Regions from separate parts of the Homo sapiens genome. Here regions 1 and 2 are each linked to region 3. The links are contacts of gene promoters, found by promoter capture Hi-C in blood cells and fetal thymus (Javierre and others, 2016). All regions are on one chromosome and are shown on one strand. The core of a region is centred on a gene start or on the middle of the fragment in contact, and the rest is flanking DNA. Distances in the headings are between cores, read along the strand shown. Region 1 holds the start of DCP1A (decapping mRNA 1A). Region 2 holds the start of CCDC66 (coiled-coil domain containing 66). Region 3 holds the start of SETD5 (SET domain containing 5).

Region 1 (4,067 bases), core at 626-3,125, about 44 Mb after region 3:
TTGTAAGAGTTAAGACCTTAGAGGAATCCAGGAAAACAAGTACCCCATGACTATCATATACTGTCAGTTGTCTTTAGGCCCCAAAAGCTGCCTAACAAAAAAGTTGCAATTTGCAAACCAATCTTAAAGATAATGAATTTTTGAATAAGTCAAAAATAAAAAATACGCCATCATGAATAATCCAAGCTTTCTAAAGAACTCTCAAATAAGACACTGTACATAATCCAGAACTTCTGTGGGTTGGGAAAGAGGACAGAACCAGTCATAAAAGACAACCACTCATGTAGTAATGAAAGAACAGAGGGATCGACCTCTCAATAACATTATTTTACAGAGCCAGTCTATGTATTGTCTTTTCCCCAAATATATATCTTTCTTTTTCTTTCTAATATGGGGGTAGGAAGAGAGACGCAGGCATCCATTTTAGACTCAATCATTATTATTTTGAAATTGCTTTGCTAGGCTGGTAATATAAATTCTAGTTCAGTTTATTCTGAATCACAGAAAGGCTCAGAGAAAAGAAAGAACCTGGTTAAGATTTCACAGCTAGGGAAAGATGAAAACTTGAAGGGTACTAGCAGGACGGTTCCAAAGACAAATGTACAAGAGAATTGAACCGTTTCACATTGTTCACCACTAGACTGTTAAAAACAAATATACATATTTTAAAAACTTACCTTCGATATACGAATAAGGTCCCTTCTATATCAGTCTTCTCCTATGAAAGACAATGACTCAATTAGTTTTTTTTCCCCATAATCAGACCCCAAATAGTCCCCATGGAGAAGTAATGCTTCACGTTTAAGATCAACTTGTTTCATTTCATCTATTATAAAATTAACCACTTTTGAACAGGTAAAGTCTCCCTCTCATTCCACAAATTGTGGTTACCATTTCTAATGTATCCTTTCAGTGCATAAGCATATGCAATATTTAATCCAGCAACATATCTGTATCTGCAGTATTTTTCTTTTTTAATTAGTAAAGGAGAAAATCATAGAATAAACCTTCACTTTTTATAGCTAAAATATTTTAGCCAGATTTCTTAACTTTAAAGCTAAGGTCCTGTATACTGCAATTTCTTCTCTTTTAAGTTTATCCAAGTTAATTTTAAAAAAGGAAAGGAATGAAACTTTCTTATAGGATACTTTGTTTCATCACTAGGGAGTTTTCGTACATTTTGACAACTAGCAAATTTTGTGGTTAAGAATTACTACCAAACAAAATCAGCTTGTTATTTTTAGAACTTGAAGAATCTTGAATACTGAAAGTATACCCTGCCTCAGTGTAATTATTGGAGGCCTTTACCATAGTTCATTTTCTGTGACAAGAGTGTATTTAGGTTTTAAACACAGTTCAGTGTTTTTTAAAAAATAAATAAGCTTATTAGTCTGCAATTTACAGCCTACAATGGACCTAAATATTTTACTGTAATCAACGCATTATTAACATTTTAAATGTTAGTCATATATTGAATGTGTTGGGATTAAAAAATTTAGAAAATTGATCATCTCGATTTCTTCCAGAAGTACTACCCTAGCTTAAATATCATTATTTTCCTTCCTAAGGATTCAGAGGCTTTTTCTTACCTTTAAAATGTTAGGTTATTACTATAAGAAACTGGTAATCAACTGTCTTACAGTAAAAGAAAATTTGCCCACCAAAAAACATCATGCAAAGTTACAACTCACTGTAAAATAATAAAGAGGGAAAAGATTTTTGTCATGCTCTATGTGCCAGGATCCAAATAAACAGTAGCAGCTTATTTTTCAATTCAGGTTATTATAGCTTGTATTTCATATTTAAAACAGAACTCCACAATGTAAAATTTTAAAATATTGAAAGCCTTTGTGAAAAACTAGGAAAACTCTAGCCCCAAGTCTTCACCATTTGTCGGCAATCCATATTTCAAAATTTATATATAGGCCAAGAAAAGAAAAAAGATTCATAAAATTTCAAACTAAGGCAATGTCTAAAATAGCTACATTTAAAAAACAATCTACAATTTTATTCCTTGTGGCTTCCCATATCTCCTTCTCTTCCAGGAGGCAAAGATAAACAACGTGATTATAAAAACTCTTCATCTGAATTAACTGTTCATAAATGCCAAATGATTTTCGATAAATTACTGATAAATATAATCTATGCAACTGTATTATAGGGTAAACGACATACTACGGTCATCTTCCAGAGTTCTGTCAGTTTAAGGATTTCGTATCTTATTGAAATGTGAACTCCAGTCATTGGTGAATTCAATCCAACAAGCATTTACGTATTACTTTCTAAGTGTAAAGCCTGTAGCTGAATGAGTTAATTAGGAAGGGTCAATTACAAGAAAGTGGGAAATTATGCTTTTTAAACAACTAACAAAGCTTCAAGCAGGGGCTAACAAGAATCAGTGAACACACTGAATGTGACTTTTCGGACCCTCCCCAGTGCACGAAAGCCAGAAAGTACTGAGTCCGAGGGGAGCATTCAGAGATGACATCACCAGCATCATAGATGGAACAAAACACATTTACAGGGTCTCTCTTGTTTGTACAAAGGTCTTCGGGGATCCAGTGAACACGGAAGCCCTTTTCCTAAGTGCCTTGGAATCTTTTCCGAAACTCTGTGTAGTTCGATTAAAGCCGGACCCACCCACCCCCTCCTTCCAAGAATCGAAACTAATTGGATTTTAAACTTTAAACCCAAATGACCTCTGCGACAGGGGCTCTCATTTACGTTTGCCAGGGGGAGAGGAGGAGTGTTTATTTTATAGATAATGTACATATAATTTATCTAATAATCCGCAAAGCCTCAAACACAAGCTTTCAGGCACCCTTTTGACCCCACCGGTCTTATAACTCCCAATGTATCTGCAAAGAAGGCAGGTCGCCCACGTCCCCAGACCCGACGCCAAGGGACTGATCCTGCTCCAATCCTCCCCTCCACTGGCTTTTCCTTGGGATGTCTCGAGCCACTTCTCTCACTCCTATCCCCCAATCCCAAGCGGACCCGACACCCCTCAGGCTCTGGCTAGGCTCTTGGCCAGACCCTGGCCTCGTCTCCACCGCCCTGGCCTCTTAGTGTGCCCCCCCACCCCACAGTAACCCGCGCGGCCCCTTTAAGAGACGGCAGCGGCCGGGTGGCCGTCCTCAGGGCCAGGCGGCACTCACCCACTGGTTGGCCTTGGGGCAGAAGGTGTACAGAGCGACCTGGCCCGTGAGGTCTGCGATGCTGGTGATATAGGGGTCGTGTTGCTTCAGGGCCGCTAGGCTCATCTCCTGCCCAGCTCGACTCAGCGCCTCCATCTTGAATCCCAGAGCCTAGCCCCTCTGGTGGGGGCGGAGTCGCGGACAGGAAAGTGCCATCGAGGCAAAATTCCCCCATCTGCGTCAGTCCCCTCAACTTCCGCCTCTACGCGGGCCTCGCGGCAGGGCGGTACGTCAGCCATTCTGGTCCGCCGCGCGCACGCTCCGGGCGCCGGGTTCCGGCGTTGTCAGGGTCCGCGGCCCTACGATGTGGGCGGTGTCCAAGGCTGCGTAGTGGAGCTTGCAGGCTGGAGCTCCGGCGCTTCCTTTCCCTGAGCTAAAACGACTGGGTCCTGGGATCTGGCCTCTAGCTCGCCTGCCGAGCTCTTTCCAGGCAAAGGTTGGAGACCGCCGAAGTGCCGGCCTCGCGGTGCGCTGTCTGGCAGGGCCCGGGGCCACAGAAGGAAAACATGTCTGTGGAATGTGGAAATGCGGGACTCTACCGGGCCCGTTTAGAGAGCACAGAAAAACATGGGGGAAAGGGAGAGGCGAGAAGCCCAGAAAATTACCCTAGGTCTCAGATATGGATGTGTCGACCTAAAAGGAAGAAGACTCTGGGGCAAAATAAATGCAAGCAGAGAGTTTATTTGGGCCAAGCTTGAGGATTGCACCCCAGGAGCATAGATTCAAGTTGCCTTGAATATATACACTGATTAGCAGAAGGTACAAGTGGATTTTTTTTCTTTTTTTTTGAGACGGAGTTTCACTCTTGTCGCCCAGGCTGAAGTGCAGTGGCGCGATCTCGACTCACTGCAACCTCCGCCTCCAAGGTTC
Region 2 (3,949 bases), core at 1,331-3,830, about 47 Mb after region 3:
GCCTCAGCCTCCTGAGTAGCTGGGACTACAGGCGTCTGCAACCACACGCAGCTAATTTTTTGTATTTTTAGTAGAGACGGGGTTTCACCGTGTTAGCCAGGACAGTCTCGATCTCCTGACCTCGTGATCCGCCCGCCTCAGCCTCCCAAAGTGCTGGGATTATAGGCGTGAGCCACCGCGCCTGGGCAGTATCGTGTTTTTATTTTCAGCTTCTATTTGTTCATTGCTGACATACAGGAAAGCAATTGGCTTTTGTGTATTAACCTTGCATTCTGCAATGCCACTATACTCACTTATTAATTCCAGGAGGATTTTTTGTGGCTTCTTTCAGATTTTCTACATAGACAATCATGTCATCTGCAAACAAAGTTTTCTTTCTTTCTTCCCAGTCTGTATACTTATTTCTTTTTCTTGTCTTAGCTAGGACTAAGGCTAAGTCTTAGGATTAGCTCAGACTTCCAGTGTGATGTTGAAAAGCAGTGATAAGAAGAGACATTCTTGCCTTGCTCTTGTTCCCAATCTCAGTGGAAAAGTTGCACTTTTTCACTGTTAAGTGTGATATTGGGCTCTACAGGATTTTTTTAAAAAATAGAGATAGAGTCTCACCATGTTGCCCAGGCTGGTCTCGAACTCCTACACTCAAGCAATCCTCCTGCCTTGGCCTTCCAAAGTGCTGCAATTACAGGCATAAGCCACCACACCCGGTCTCTAGGAGATTTTTTGTAGATATTGCTTATCAAGTTAAGGACGTTCTCCTATATTGAGAGATTTTAAGAAGCAGAGTGAATTAAGCAGATTCACATTTTAGAAATCATTCTGGCTACAGGCTCACGCCTATAATCCCAGCACTTTGGGAGTCTGAGGTGGGAGGACTACTTGAGGCCAGGAGTTTGAGACCAGCCTGGGCAACGTAAACAGACTCTGTCTCTACAAAAATTTTTTTAAAAATTAACCAGGCGTAGTGGTGCATGCCTGTAGCCCTAGCTACTTGGGAGGCTGAGACAGGAGGATCATTTAAGACCAGGAGTTCGAGGTTACAGTGTTATGTTCGTACCAATGTAGGCGGCCTGGGTGACAGAGCAAAACCCTGTCTCTAAAAAAAAAAAAAAAAGAAAGAAAAGAAAAAGAAAAAGCAAGTGTTGGGGTGAAGAAATTAGAACCTCATATACATTGCTGGCAGAAATGTAAGATGCTGCAACTGTTATGAAAACAGTTTGGCAGTTTCTCGAAAAGTTAACCATAGAATTACCATGTGACCCAGTAATTCCACTCTTAGGTGTATACCAAGAAAATTGAAAATAGGGATTCAAACAGATACTTGTACATCAGTGTTCACTACAGCATTATTCACAATAACTAAAAGATGGAAACAACCCAAATGTCTATTAATGGATGAATGAGTAAACGAATTGTGGTATATATATACATAGAATGGAATACTATTCAATCATAAACAGATATGAAGCTCTGATACATCCTACAACATGGATGCACCTTGAATACATTATGTTACTTGAGAGAAGACACAAAAGGACAAATATTGTATGATTCCACTTTTATGACATGAAGTATCTATAATAGGCAAATTCCTAGAGACAGAAATAAGATTAGAGGTTTCTTAGGATTGAGGGGAGAGGAAAATGGGAAGTTGTTGCTTAATGGGTACAGAATTTTTATTTGGGGGTACTAAAAAGCTTTTGGAAAAATATACTGGCGTATTCCACAACATTGTATCATGGAATTGTCACTTGAAAATGGCTAAAAATAGCAAATTTTAACACACATATTACAACAATAAAAAATAAAAAAGTAAAGGTTTGTCAGGCATTTAATAATTAATACCTTTCATTGTTTTTGTCTGGAAAGAGTGTGTGCAAAGATACTTAACAACCAAATGTAATGTGTGATCCTTGATCGGCTCTTGCATTTTTTTTTTTTTTTTTTGAGACGGAGTCTCACTCTGTCGCCCAAGCTGCTGGAATGCAGTGGCGCGATTGGCTCTTGCTTTCTAAATAAAATGCCTATAAGATATTCTTAGGACAAGTGGGGGAAATTAAATCGGGAAGAGAATTATTATGAAATTAATGATCTTAGGTATAATAATTGTACTGCGGTTATGTAGCAGAACATCTATTCTTAGGAGATACATGCTGCAATGTTAAAGGGTTAAGTGTTACAATGTCTGCAATGTTAAAGGGTTAAGTGTTACAATGTCTGTAACTTACTTGCAAATGGTGACCCCAAAAAGGTGTGTGTGTGTGTGTGTGTGTGTGTGTGTGTGTGTGTGTGTGTGTGTGTGTGTGTGTGTGTCTGTGTACGCGCTTTGGAAGGCTACAATTGCGAGAAGCGCAGGTCTCCGCCACCGAAGCTTTAGACTCATAAGCCGGGTCAGGCCAAATTCCGCTGTGCGTAGGGGAACAAACGGCACAAACGGGGCACAAAAGGGGAACAAACGGCATACGCAACCGTCCCCGCGGGAGCCCCGGCCCAGCTCAGCGCACCCGCCAGCATGCCCCACCCTGATTGGTCCACTTGCTCAGCTCGCCGGCACCCCTATATCCAATTGGCGTAGCGCTTGCTGAGCGGCGGCGGCAACCGACGTACACAAGGGGCTTGAGCGTTCTGTGGAGAGAGTGCGAGGTCAGGCCATGAACTTGGGGTAAGCAGGGGTAAGCTGGGGTAAGCTGGGGTAAGCAAGGTGGTCGTCAGCGGAGAGGGAGGCATGTGTGTCTGGGTTGTCCCTTGGAGTCTTTACTGGAGAACGTTCCCAACCTGCGCCGCCGAGAGGGGCAGAGCCCAGTTCTCGGGTAGAAGATCGAGGCAGATGGGTCGGCCCTTAGCGACTCCACAGACCTTACGTTTTCACTTAATGACTAGCATTAAAACTGCCAGTGATCCCCTTTCGGTCCCTTATTTACCTCAGGATGAGGAGGGAAGAGAGGTGAGGAGGAAAGGAGAGAAATGACGAGACAGTTAGAGGAAGCGTGGCGGCTCCTGGGGAGGACTCCTGGCCCATGCCCCGGGTTCTTCGCCACCTTGTTTTTGGAGTCTTGCAGAATGTTGAAACGCCCAAATTCGTTTTAGGCCCACGAGGCGGGGAACCAGGCTTCTCAAGAAATCGATGTAGTACCAGTGCCTAACACCTAGTAGGCGCTCCTTAAGTAGGGGTGAATAAATAAAAAGGGCTGGTGCATGGTCTTCATCACTCGCAAGTTTGATATTTTGAGAAGATGAGAAGCCACCAAACTCAGACCTAACTACACATCGTTCAGCAAATGTTATTATGTTTTAGAATCTGGGGATATGGAAATAAATAAGATAGTGTGTCCCTTAAGGAGATTACAGTGCAGTGCGTCATTGAAGGTACTTTACCATTGAAGCTCTTTTCTTTCTTGGTGACGTTTCACCAACATAAACACGAACTGTTCATAACCCTACAATAAGGAAAGCCGTAAAACCTATTCTTTCCAGTGTTTTACCTTTAATAGTTAAGGTGAGGTAATTTGATTTCCCCTACCTGAGCAACACCGCAAATTTCGCATTCCTAATCAGACCTTTCCCAGCCTCTCTCTCCCTTGACTGGCTTGCTGGATTTAATTTTCTCTCTCTGAATTATGGACTGTATGTATGGGCTGCCATTTTTGTTCTCAGTGGAGTTTTAGGACCTTAACAGACGTTCAAGTTTTGTTGGCAGTGGCTACTGTTACTTTATGCCTTTGCTTCTGATATGCACGTATAAAGCACCATACTAAATATCACTATGTATTATTTGAAATATTGAAAGTGGTACTCTTTGCTCAAGCAGTTACTAACCTTGATGGCATTGTTAGTAGTCATATCGATGCTCCAGCACTCCATAGAATGTTTTAGTCATGAGTTCATTATGAAACTAATGAATGGCGGTTAAATATATCTTGTTCCTTTAACTTATGTGAGGAGTTTTGGTAAC
Region 3 (4,216 bases), core at 130-2,629:
CCCCTTAAGCCTAGGCAAAAGAATCCCGCCCATAATCGAGAAGCGACTCGACATGGAGGCGATGACGAGATCACGCGAGGAGGAAAGGAGGGAGGGCTTCTTCCAGGCCCAGGGCGGTCCTTACAAGACGGGAGGCAGCAGAGAACTCCCATAAAGGTATTGCGGCACTCCCCTCCCCCTGCCCAGAAGGGTGCGGCCTTCTCTCCACCTCCTCCACCGCAGCTCCCTCAGGATTGCAGCTCGCGCCGGTTTTTGGAGAACAAGCGCCTCCCACCCACAAACCAGCCGGACCGACCCCCGCTCCTCCCCCACCCCCACGAGTGCCTGTAGCAGGTCGGGCTTGTCTCGCCCTTCAGGCGGTGGGAACCCGGGGCGGAGCCGCGGCCGCCGCCATCCAGAAGTCTCGGCCGGCAGCCCGCCCCCGCCTCCAGCGCGCGCTTCCTGCCACGTTGCGCAGGGGCGCGGGGCCAGACACTGCGGCGCTCGGCCTCGGGGAGGACCGTACCAACGCCCGCCTCCCCGCCACCCCCGCGCCCCGCGCAGTGGTTTCGCTCATGTGAGACTCGAGCCAGTAGCAAGGGCCCGGTCCCACAGCTTCGACAGCCAATCAGGTGTCGAAGACAAGCAGGCGGCGGGTAAACCGACTCCCCCGAAGGAAGGGGAGGGTGGGAGGACGCCCGCGCCAGAGCCGATTTCACTGACCCTCCCCTCCCGCCGCAGGAGGCCGGCCGCGCCCGCACACCCAGCATCTCTACACCCCACCTACCTACCCGCCCCACCCAGGGGGCAACGCGAGAGTCGCTAAGCGGCTGCGTACTCCCGACGGCGTAACTGACAGGAGCTTTACTCCAACCAGAATACGCCATTTGTGTTTTCACACACGGCGGGAGGAGAAACGGCCAATCGGCGACAAGAGGCTAGCCGGAAGCGCTCCTCCCTCTGCGAGAGCAATGGCTCCGTCCGGTTTCGAGCATTTTCCGCTCCCTTCTCCCTCCCCCTCCGGTTGCCGCAGGGCGGGCCTCCCTCCCGCCTGCATCCAGCCACCCCTTTCCCTCCCAACGTAACAAACATTATGTTCCCGACTTCCCACGGGAAAGGCAACCCCCGCAAGCCACCAGACGGCCCCCCTAGCCACCCATCCCCCCAGTGTACCGCACCTCCCCTCCCACCAGAGTTCCGCTCCCCTACCTAGCCGAGGCTCTCTGAGGAGCCGGAGCGCCGAAGCACAGCCTCTTCTCTAGGCGGCCCCGGCGGCTTCCGCTGATTGGCGGCGAGTGGGCCAATGGGTGCGGGGCGGTGGGCGGAGAGGCCAATGGCGCGGCGGGAGGGGGCGTGTCCCGGGTGCCCCTGGCGCCGGCGCTGGGAATCCCCGTGCGGTCAGTGGCGTTTCCGCTCGGGCAGCGGGCTGAGTGAGCTGCCGCCGCCGCCGCCGCCGCCGCCGCCGCCGCCGCTGCCGGGGGAGGGGCGGCCGCCGCCCGCCTGCGCTCAGAGACTCACGCAGCCCCAGTCCCGCCAGTCCGCCAACACAGTAGTGCCGGCCCCCCTCTTTCCCTGGCCCTGCCCCCCCTCCCCGCCTTTGGCTCGCTCCGCCTTTCTGCCCCCCACCCCCACCTCACGGGTACGGGCCATTCCCGGCCAGGAAACGCCGTGGCGCCGCGTTGGGCCTAACTCGAGTCCTGCCGCCTCCCGGGAGTGCCGTGCGCCGCAGCCCGGGCCCAGGCCCCGGCAGCGCCTGGGACAAGGTAAGGGTCCGACAGAAAAGAGACCGAACCTCACGATCGGGCCCCAGGGGAGGGAAGGGTCACCTCCTCCGTCTCCCCGCGCTCGCTCTCCTTGGGTCGTGGGCCTGGCCCTCCCCAAGCTCTTAGGAGGATGCTGCCACTTCTCACCCCCCTCGCCGCCTTGCACACACCGTTGCAACACCCCATTTTCCCAGGGAGAGAGATCCCCCTCTAATCTAGGCGACCCAACTCCCCCTTTCATGTTTTTCCTGGGTCAGGACGCTTCCCCTCCCCCAACGCCTCTTCACCCCCTTTCCTGGGAACTGCCTACTCCACGTTTACCTTTCCCTTGAGGAGAGGCCTCTTGCTGCCCTCCGCTCGAAATACACAGGCATACTTTTTTTCTCTCCCCGATCCCCCACTCCCTACCCCCGTTCTCGCGGCCTTGTGACAGACAACTCTGATCGCTCTGGGGGCCGCGATCTCCCCTCCGTAATCTTCCTGGACGCCTTCCCTCTCGTTTTCTGGCTTCCCACCTCAGATGGCTGCTTCCCAAAGGCATTACCTTCGCCACCCCCACCACACGTTCTCTGGCTCCCCGTGGCGTGTGCCACAGCGTGTCTGAGATAGCCTCGTTGAATGTGTAGGGTTCGAGCCTGGAGTTGAGCCAGATTGTGTCGTTTTACTTGCCTTGGGCGTGGAGAACGATCTTGTGAGAATATCTTCAAAGGCAGAAAAATATTCCCTTTATGAATTCTCTTTCCCTCTGCGTGTAAGTCGGGAATGTGAAGAGGAGTGTAGGAAAGAGCCCTGGTTCAAGTAGGTAAATCGCATGAGAGGGAAAGTTAAACTGTTGGGAAAGCCCCTTCTATGCTAATTGATTCTATAGAGTCCTTGCTTGTCTCACTTCTTGGGCGTCAGTGGTCTTTCTCTTGGATATGGATGCTGCAGTCAGCTCTGCTGGTCTGGGTCAGGGGTGCGTGTATGACCTGCATTTTCTGCTTTCTCATGTTACTTGTGCAATGTATTCACCGGTAACTCATTTCTTTCCCAGACCTCTGGGTTCCACTGGGCTTTGTCTATATTTAAGTTCATTTCTCCAGTTTCCTTCCTGCACATAGGTACTGAACGAATCCCCAAGTTCTGTGCTAATTACCTTCATCAGTTGACTAAACAAGTTTTTAGATGACATATTTGTGACCAAGGTCATATTTACATTTCTTTGTTGGACAGATGTTACATAGCTATACTTGTGATTGGGGAGGATCCAGCTGAGTGGAGTGTGCTGAGCTTTTTAGGAGAGTGTGTACTCCCTATTTGAAATTATTTTTTGGTTGTTAATTTTATATTATTAATGTTTTTAGGTCACAGAAAGTTCTAAGTGGTAATTTTAGATGTGTGGGATCTGAGCTAGGACTAAAGCAGAGAATACCCACGTAATCAGAGGTTTCTGGGCTCCATAGAGGACGTAGGGCTTTTTTTTTTCTATTGGATTTCTTCCAGTTTTCTCAGGATCATTAGTTCTCTTCTGTAGCCAAAAATTCTGGCCTGTTATGGGATTAGAGTCTTTAAGGTTTACTCAGACTGTCATTATGTGTAGAAAAATGAATTATGCCCTTTGGTAGGACATGACACAAGGCTCTGTTTCTAGCTGCAAATTTAAATTAGATTGTAGAGTGCTTGGGAAATTGGCTTTCAAAAGACCAAAGCTTAATCTTCACTCCTAAACTGCTGGCTTAATTAAAATGGATATTTAGAATTTGGTAAATGTTGATTTTTCTAATAAAAGGCCTTGGTTTAAAAGGGTGACCTTAGGATTGTTTCTTTCTTAAAAGCATAATTCCAGCCCTTCTGGCATGGAGCACTGGTCCAAAAAAAAAAAAAAAAAGTGTGTGTAAGGAGTGGGGGTGGGGTAAAGAGAAGGTTGTTCCTTTGGGTTGGATCACAGGGGTGAGTATACAAGGCAGCAGCAGCTGCTGGCTCTGGAGCTCTGGTTGCTACGTGAGAAGCTTGAGTAGTGCTGGCTGCTGTCTCCAGGGAAGGACAGCAGTGCAGCGTCCATTAATGCTGCTGGCTGCAGGGAGCAGCACTTAGGCGATGGCTGCTTCAGGACTAAGAAGAAACCTTGCTTTTCTGGGAATTTTCACTGCTGAGCTGGTTTGCTTTTTATTGGTGGGGAGATGGGAATTAGTAATTCATAATCTCCTACCCATTTATGGATATTGGCATCTGGAAACTGGATCATGGTTAAAGCCTTTCTTTTTTTGTTTGTTTGATTTGATTTTTGTTTTTTGGCAGATTTTTGTTTTTTATCTAGACATTTGTGCTTGGATAGGACTAAAAGTTCCATTAGAGTTTTAATTTTTCAATCAGTTTAAAAACCCAAGTAATAATTTTAAGAATCTTTCTGATAACCACAATAGGAAGAAAATAACAGGAATTTTTTCCTGCAGCTCACATATCATGCCTTCCTCCATCTCTTTAATCATAGAATC

What was found. Contacts are between HindIII fragments. The CHiCAGO score rates a contact against its expected background, and 5 or more counts as called.
Region 1: a fragment that was not itself captured here is called in contact with the fragment with the promoter of SETD5 in region 3 in 1 of 17 cell types (total B cells); the score reaches 6.4 in total B cells.
Region 2: a contact is called between the fragment with the promoter of CCDC66 here and the fragment with the promoter of SETD5 in region 3, in 1 of 17 cell types (naive CD8 T cells). The highest score is 8.2, in naive CD8 T cells.

Annotation. Positions count from the first base shown.
Region 1 is chr3:53,344,225-53,348,291 of GRCh38, forward strand. It overlaps DCP1A (decapping mRNA 1A), which reads right to left and starts at 3,319. Exons shown (of 10, transcript NM_018403.7): 1 at 3,159-3,319; 2 at 678-718. The coding sequence starts at 3,293. RefSeq lists enhancers at 2,327-2,917, 2,918-3,508, 3,044-3,813. The HindIII fragment of the contact is 990 bases long and covers 1,381-2,370 here.
Region 2 is chr3:56,554,595-56,558,543 of GRCh38, forward strand. It overlaps CCDC66 (coiled-coil domain containing 66), which reads left to right and starts at 2,581. Exons shown (of 18, transcript NM_001141947.3): 1 at 2,581-2,659. The coding sequence starts at 2,649. RefSeq lists enhancers at 2,024-2,696, 2,697-3,368, 2,837-2,996. The HindIII fragment of the contact is 1,896 bases long and covers 2,367-3,949 here.
Region 3 is chr3:9,396,236-9,400,451 of GRCh38, forward strand. It overlaps SETD5 (SET domain containing 5), which reads left to right and starts at 1,380. Exons shown (of 23, transcript NM_001080517.3): 1 at 1,380-1,742. It overlaps THUMPD3-AS1 (THUMPD3 antisense RNA 1), which reads right to left and starts at 388. Exons shown (of 4, transcript NR_132781.1): 1 at 325-388. RefSeq lists a silencer at 278-1,587 and an enhancer at 2,198-2,247. The HindIII fragment of the contact is 6,018 bases long and covers 1-3,428 here.